Regions from separate parts of the Homo sapiens genome. Here regions 2 and 3 are each linked to region 1. Evidence: promoter capture Hi-C in 16 types of primary human blood cells and fetal thymus (Javierre and others, 2016). All regions are on one chromosome and are shown on one strand. The core of a region is centred on a gene start or on the middle of the fragment in contact, and the rest is flanking DNA. Distances in the headings are between cores, read along the strand shown.

The links. The method cuts DNA at HindIII sites, captures the fragments that hold promoters and counts their contacts. A CHiCAGO score of 5 or more calls a contact.
Region 2: a contact is called between a fragment that was not itself captured here and the fragment with the promoter of PCTP in region 1, in 6 of 17 cell types (monocytes, M0 macrophages, neutrophils and 3 more). The highest score is 9.6, in monocytes.
Region 3: a fragment that was not itself captured here is called in contact with the fragment with the promoter of PCTP in region 1 in 1 of 17 cell types (monocytes); the score reaches 5.4 in monocytes.

The regions. Positions count from the first base shown.
Region 1 is chr17:55,749,778-55,752,358 of GRCh38, reverse strand. PCTP (phosphatidylcholine transfer protein) reads right to left here and starts at 1,308. Exons shown (of 6, transcript NM_021213.4): 1 at 1,115-1,308. The coding sequence starts at 1,255. RefSeq lists a silencer at 1,171-1,510. The HindIII fragment of the contact is 1,470 bases long and covers 1,238-2,581 here.
Region 2 is chr17:55,529,854-55,532,434 of GRCh38, reverse strand. It overlaps a transcript of SMIM36 not described here. Among named protein-coding and RNA genes, the nearest start is that of SMIM36, 20 kb to the right of the region's middle. The HindIII fragment of the contact is 2,044 bases long and covers 278-2,321 here.
Region 3 is chr17:55,548,043-55,550,623 of GRCh38, reverse strand. No RefSeq gene overlaps it. Among named protein-coding and RNA genes, the nearest start is that of SMIM36, 38 kb to the right of the region's middle. The HindIII fragment of the contact is 2,872 bases long and covers 1-2,581 here.

The sequences.
Region 1 (2,581 bases), core at 59-2,558:
AACAACCCTGCAATGAGACAGGCAGAGTTTTCATTCCTGCAATGAGACAGGCAGAGTTTTCATTCCTGTTTAACAGGTGAGCAACTTCTAAATATTGCAAACGTTTGTTTTCTGTTTTAAAATATAAAAACACTATATTTGATGTAAACAAAAATGCAAGTGCCTAAAAAGGCAACCACATGTTTGACATTCACAAGATCATGAACCCTCCAATCCCACCTCTGCTATTCACTTATCTGGGCCATTTCAGGAGTGACTTCACCCTTGAGGCCTGTTGCTTTCACCTATGAAACCTGGGGTTTAACCAGGTGAGCATGAGGTATCCTCCTAACTCTAACACTATAATATCCTGGTCCTGTATTAGGAAACTTCAGTTTCACCCACATTACCTGCAGGCGACTTTTAACCTACTTGCCATGCTGCGACTATTACACAAAGCAACTGATGACAAGCCTTGGATGACAGGCCTCAGGGGCAATGCCTTCCACCTGGATGGCTACCTGATTCCAAAGACTTCAACAACCAATCCCATTCCTCCTACATCTTTACTCCTGCCTGAAGATTCGGACTCAACTTATTAAGAGCAACTTGGAAGGAAGGGGCAACAACCAAAAGAAACGAGTCACTAAAACAGTAGGGCCCTTCTCGGCAACCCCTGACACCACCCTGCACATCCAGTCCTTGAAAAGTTCTGTTTCTTTTCCTCCTATATCCAAGCCCTAAGATACCGCCCCTCCCCCACCCCAGCCCCCATATGCCACTGACACGCATTGGAGAGTGAGGATCAACGTCCCTTGCAGACGTGTGCACGGGCCTAGGAACCAGCTGACCCACGTTTCAACTGTCATTAACTTCTAACTACATGCCCCGTCGGGCCTGACCTGAGGCTGAACTCCTGTGACCTTCCAACTCCCCTGGATCTGCACGGCAGTCACTTGGAGGCACCGCCCCTGCGCTAGCTCCAGAGCTTGAGACAGGGTCCGGGCGGAGCTCCTTCCTGAGCCGGAGAAGACGCGCCCCTGTCCCTTCCGCGACTGCCGCCCCGCACTCCCTGCGGGGAGGTCGACCCCGGCGCATTCTAGGCCCCGCGGTCCTCCAGCGGGTTGGCCGCTACCTTGTCCAGCAGCCGGTAGATGCTGATGCCCGAGGTCTCCACTAGGAGCTGCCAGTCGGCCCCGGCCAGAGCGGGCTGCTGGAGCTCGGCGCAGGCCTCCCAGAACTGCTCCTCCGAGAAGCTTCCGGCGGCCAGCTCCATCCTTCCGCAGTCCGGGCTCCTCCGCCTGGAGGGCAGGCCGCGGACACCCTTAGTGTGGGCCTGGGGGCGGGGTGACCGGGCTGCCCCGGCTGCCCCGGCTGCCCCAGCGTCATTGGCAGGAAACTGAGGAGAAGGCGGGGCCTAGACTGGAGGAGCGGCCTGAGGGTGGGGCCCTGGAGGGGCGGGCCTAGAAAAGCGGGCGGGGCTGAGCAAGGAGTGAGGAGGATAGACAAGAAGTAAAAGGAGAAAAATTGGACTTGATGTGGGGAAGGAAGGAAGAGCTGGAGAAGTAAGGAGGCTTCCAGAGGGAAGGGAAAAAGGAAGGGAGACAGTGATGTCACCTCAAAAACAGCTCCTCAGTAGCCTATCCCATACTCCCTGCTACTCCCATAACCTACAGACCTGTTTGAGTGTCTCTCATTTACCTTTCTGAATAAAGTAGAGAAAGTCTCTTTGGTAGACATGAGAGGAGAGGTGGGCAGAGTAGAAATGCTGGAAAAATCCTAAGGGGTCAAATGCCAGAAGTGTATTTCAATATAATTTCTCTTCTTTCTGCTATACATTGTAAAACATTATTCTGAGACGAGGTCCATTGGATTCCCCAGAAGACTCTAGGGGTTCATAACACCAAAACAGTTTAGAAACCTAATCCATAATGGATCTACAAGGTTGTTGCCACCCTTGAGGGTAGAAACTGATCTGAAAGGTGTCGTACTATCCACCTAGGATTTCTGCAACTTGCATAATTTAGCTCACTGTGCAACTCAAACATCTTCTTGTTCCTTTGAAGTCCCTTGAGTAATACTGTATTTCCCACCAGCAGACTGTACTACCTGACTTTGAATAAAGTAGGTCGTTTGAACATCAAAACGATGTAACAGCCACGTGAGTGCCAATAAACTCTGGAAACTCATGTTTCCTAATCTGTAAAATGGGTCAAGAATTGTGCTACCAGTTACAGCTGAGGAGGTGGTTGGACAAGGAATAATTTTCCACAGTGCCCGTCCAAGTAAATGTTCAATAACAATTTCCACTTGTTTTGCATTACTATATTGAAATGCTTTTCTTTCCTTACTTGAAAGAAAGTTGATGGCAAAGTCTTAATTTATGTGATTTTCCAATCAGGCAAATGATCACATTTGGCAGCTTGCTTAGTTAGACACAGCAGAGATAAATAATTGCTTTCCTCAAGTCAGTCCTGGTTCTGTTTGGCTTTATAGGTGTGGAAAGAGGGATGTGAAATTTTCCTAGACTAAATGCACAAAAGTTTAGGCTAGACATACTTTCCCACTGTTTTATAACTCCTTGTAAATTTTCTATGTATTG
Region 2 (2,581 bases), core at 50-2,549, 220 kb after region 1:
AAGGACATGGAAAATTAAAAGAGAAGTTAAACACTGCACAATTAAGTGAGAAGAACTTTGAATCTCAATGAATAACTCAGGCAAGACAATAGGAAGAGAATGGAGATAAGGAGAAGGTATGAGCTACAAGAAGGAAGGTCAGCCCTCCGCCAAACCAGCAAGATATTCCCTGTGGTGAAGAATGGCTGATGAATTTCAGCACAAAGCTATCTAATGTTCAGTTTCAAGTTGCTATCTACATGATGCTATGCCATCATCCCTCCATTACTGCAAAGCTTCAGTAAAAGAGAGAAAGAAAGTTAACAGCAGAAATGAGGAGCAATATTTAGGAAGCATAACGGGGCATAAAGACATGTAAACTCTACAAAATTACACAGGTGAGACTTTTCGATAGCAATATCTTATTTCAATTTTAAAATTCAGGCTCAGACCAGAAAGTGAGGGTACTTGGGGTCACCCACACAACTGACACTTGGGTGACATATGTATTCCTACACAATGGAGAAATACCTCTTCTACATGATGGCAAATATCCCTGTGAGTGTTATCTCCTTATCTTTCACTTTATCTTACCATTGTCTGGTTTGTTTAGCTCCTACTTGGGGCCTATTCCGTACTATTGTGTCCTCCTCATTTATTATGGTTACATTCCGCTTCTTAAACAATTATGTCTACTATAGCTCCATGTTTATGTAAAACAGTGACTGTGTACTGATGTTTAGTCACAATAAAAGTAGCCCATACAAAGTAAAAAAGAGTTGGATTTCAAAGGACAAACACAATTTAAGACTTTTTCCCTTTGACATTGATTTCTTTCGGTACGTCAGCCAATACATAAAAACATGTCCACCTTATCAAGGCCAAAGGTTAACTACCAAGAGCTTCATTGATTCCACAAATATTTATTGTTCATCAGTCCTATGACTGACACTACTAGGGGGTAGGGCCACAGTAGGAATAACAAATGGTCACAATGTAGTTAGGGAAAGAGAAATGAAAACAAAACTGGAAGCCGGTATATACACCAGGCCAAGACAATATAAGGAGGTTATCAAAAGCCTCTGGCATGGGAAGATACAAAAACTTCAAAAGAAGGTGACAATTGGAGCCAGTTTTGAAGAATCCATGAGGGTTCACCAAGCCAAAAGGAGGGCAAGGGCATGAACTTACAAGTAACTGCCACATTATTGAGGGAAGTTTGGTCATGTGGGGAGGTCAGCGGAAGAAAAGGGAAAGGCAGGCAGCGTTGGGGTTGTGGAGATGTTTGCATGCTTGAGATGTTTGGCCTTTAATAACCATGGAGAGCCACTGAAAGTTGATAATGATAGGAGTGATTAAGAAGATATCTTGCTTCAGAAGGATGGCTTGGAAGGAGATAGAAATGGAATCTGAAAGTCCGCAAAATCTACAACTTTTGTCATGATTGTGGGGAAGAAAAGGGAAATTAAATCATTATTATTAGGTAGGCTTAAATAGGAAATTTTATTTATTTCCCTGTGCCTGGCTGCCTGAATCTAATAGTTGAACTTGCCTAAGGGAAGAGGGTCAAAAAAACAACCTGTCACTTATTTCTTCCTCATTCCCCGCAGACAATTCCCAAATAAGAATTTCTACATCCAAGCAATTCCTTCTGCTTTCCTGCATTTTTTTTTGAGGCGGAGTCTAGCTCTGTCACCCAGGCTGGAGTACAGTGGCACGATCTCGGCTCACTACACCCTCTGCCTCCTGGGTTCAAGTGATTCTCCTGCCTCAGCCTCCTGAGTAGCTGGGATTACAGGCGCCCGCCACCATGCCTAGCTAATTTTTGTATTTTTAGTAGAGATGGGGTTTCACTCTGCTGGCCAGGCTGTTCTCAAACTCCTGACCTTTTGATCCGCCTGCCTTGGCCTCCCAAAGTGCTGGGATTACAAGCGTGAGCCACCGCGCCCAGCCTCTCCTGCATTTTTAACTGCGTCTGGGGCAGTCTGTATTAATTAGCTCTACAATCTCTTAGATTCCCATCCCAGTTGCTAAAAGGGAAACCTTCTGCCTCCACCAATATTTCAATTGCCAAAGGAGGACCATAGGGCGTAGTGTGTAAATGGCAGAGAGGAAGGTGAAGTCCACATCATTCTGAGTTCCTAGAGCAGCACCAACTGTTTTCACATCCCTGGGCTGGATTGATTTGTAATCCTCCTCTCTCCTACCCTCGACCTTTACCACCTCAGTCAATCTCTGGAAGCCAAATTGGGTTCCTATCCTGGCTACATACAATCCATTCCAAATGACCTTTTGCCAAATCCCCATGGAGTTTAGAGATCCTTCTGGGGATTTTTAAAGCTTTGTTGTTTTCAGATCAAACTTTCTCTTTTATTTCTCTTTCCTCGCTAGGGCTTAGGAGGAGAACTCAGCTTTCAGTTTGATGGTGAAATATTAGTTAAACACATCATCCCCAAAGGGATGTATTTGCATCTTCTATGAACGATGATGGAAACAGTCTCAGTTTATCAGCAAGATGGCTGAGGATGCACTTACCTAAATGAGCAATGAAGATTCATCTGCTACAGCTGAACTGTATTTGCATAGGCTAACTTATTGAGAA
Region 3 (2,581 bases), core at 44-2,543, 200 kb after region 1:
GGGAACCCACTTGCATAATAGAAGATTGGCATGGGGGCGGCCAGAGATTTGTGCCATAGGCAAATGGCACACCTGGTCCTAACCAGATTTTTGCACCCTATGTAAATCAGACACCACCTCCCCACTAGCTCATCTATAAAAACCCCTGCATTTTGCTGTGGACCAGCAACCTATTTTTTCAGGACTACTCTGTGTAGCAGAGAGCTATTCTTTTTCTTTTCCCAATTAAATTTCCGCTCTTAACCTCACTCATTGTGTGTCCGCATCCTTGATCTCCATGGCTGTGAGACAACAAACCTCAAGTATTTTCCCAGACAATGAGGCCACTTCAACAAGAGACTGGTAAAAAAAAGAGACAATCAAGGAATAAGGACAATTTTTGGCGACGTGCATTAATTGAATAAATAACACATCATATCCACTTTATAAAAGAGAACAGCATTGTGATTACTCCCAGTAACTGTATTCTATCTTCAGTGGCTGTCTGATTTTATCCCCACAATCAAAATTGAAGGAATTCTGAAAAGAAAAAAATCTTAACCTTGGGGGTTAAGATTTCAACATAGGAATTTGGAGGGGGACAAAAATGTTCTATCTGTAGCAGGGTCTAAAAGCACAATTGCCCACTTAATCTCTAATTCATAGAGTAATATTAATATTTAATATACAGTTTACTTGTTAAATGCAGTTCCAAGCACTTTACATGTTTGGATGGTGGCACTCTTGTGTACTGGATTATTTCCTTCGGCTCATACAAACACCTCCTAGTATCTCTCATTAAAAACAAAACCACACCCCTTTTGAACTCTCATAACCCTCCAGATGCTTCTCCATTTCTCTGTACTTTTTCATTGTTTAGGGTTGTCTACAAACATTATGTCCACTTATTCATTTTCCACTTACTCTTACTCACTACAAGCTGAGTTTCACCTCCACTACTACACAGCAATTACTCTTGTCTGTGTCACCTGTAATCTCCATGTTACCAAATCCTATGAGCACATTTCTGCCCTCGTTTCAGTTGATTCCATAGTAGCATTCCACATAGTCAATCACTCCTACCATTTTGGAACTCCCTCCTATATTGGCTTTTGTGACACTCTTCAGTCTTGGTTTTCATTATATACCATTGCCTACTCCTTGCCTGTCTCCTTTACTCCTCTTCTACCCAATCTTTAAATGTTGGCACTTCTCAAACCCCAGTGGCAGCACTCCTTCTTTTTCTATACTCGTTCTCCTGATATAACCCAGTCGTTCTCAACAGGGTGTGATTTTGCCCCCTAGAGGACATTTGCCAATGACTAGAGACATGTTTTACTGTGACAACTGGGAGTATGTCACTGGCATCTAAAGGACAGAGGCTGGAAATACTACTAAACATTGATGGTGAGTATACAATCCTAAAATGCACAGCACAGCCTCCCACAACTAAGAATTATCTGTTCCAAAGTGCTGCTGGTACATTGAGAAACCCTGCCCATGCAGGCTTTGCCTTTTTACTGTCTGTGGCAGACAGTATGTCTTGTCTTCTGGTATCCATTCTCCCCTTCTTTTTAGTAATGGAATTGACATTTCATCAGGTAGCATATGGCCATCCAGTTTATAGACTCTATGTTACAGCCTCTCTTGCAGCTAAATAACATGTGTTACCCCTGGGTCGTTTCCTTAAAAAGAAGGTGCACCTTTTTCCCTATTTCTGAATGATAGGATGTGGTCTTGGTGCTAATGAACCAATTTCCACCATACAGAGAAAAATAATATTCAAGGGATGACAAATAAAAGTGCCGTGAATCCCTGAATGACCTTGTGGAGTGGAGCTGTCTAACTAGATCACCCACCTATCTCTGAACTATGACATGAATGATAAAGAAACTTGTGCCTTGTTTGATCCACTATATTTGGGTGCCTCATTTTAAAAATCTTAATTGATCTCCCACTGACATACCATCTATATAATACCTGATGGAGCTATAATTTGTAATCACTACCTTGAGTTCCTCTCTAAACTTCAGATTTATAAATTAACTACCTACTTGATATGTATTCTTGCATATCTCCCAGAATCTCAAACTTAACGTTTTCAAAATGAAGCTATTGATTTCACCACCAAACCACCCCTCTTTGGCCTTTCCTCCACTCAATAAATGGCTAGAAATTGTAAGTCATCCTTCATCACCGTCTTTCAACCCCAAATATATGCCTTCATTTTTGCTTCCGAAATAAGCATGATATATGCTCATTTTCTTATAGCTATTTCTACCATCTTGGTTCACGCCACTACCATCTCTCTCCTGGACCATTGTGATAGCCTCTGCACTGGGCTTCCTGTATTTTGCTTTGCTCCTCCGATTCATTTTCCACAGAGAAGCTGGAGGAAATCTTTCTAAAATAACAATCAGATAATCACATGCTTTTCACAAGACTTTTCAAAGTCTACCTAATGCGCTTAAAATAGAACTCATAATTCTTACCCAGAGTCTACAAAGATCAGCATAATCTAATCCTTGTATAGCTTCATCTTGGGCCACTCTTGCCTTTTACACCTGATGCCCAAGCCACACTGGTCTCCTTTCAGTTCATC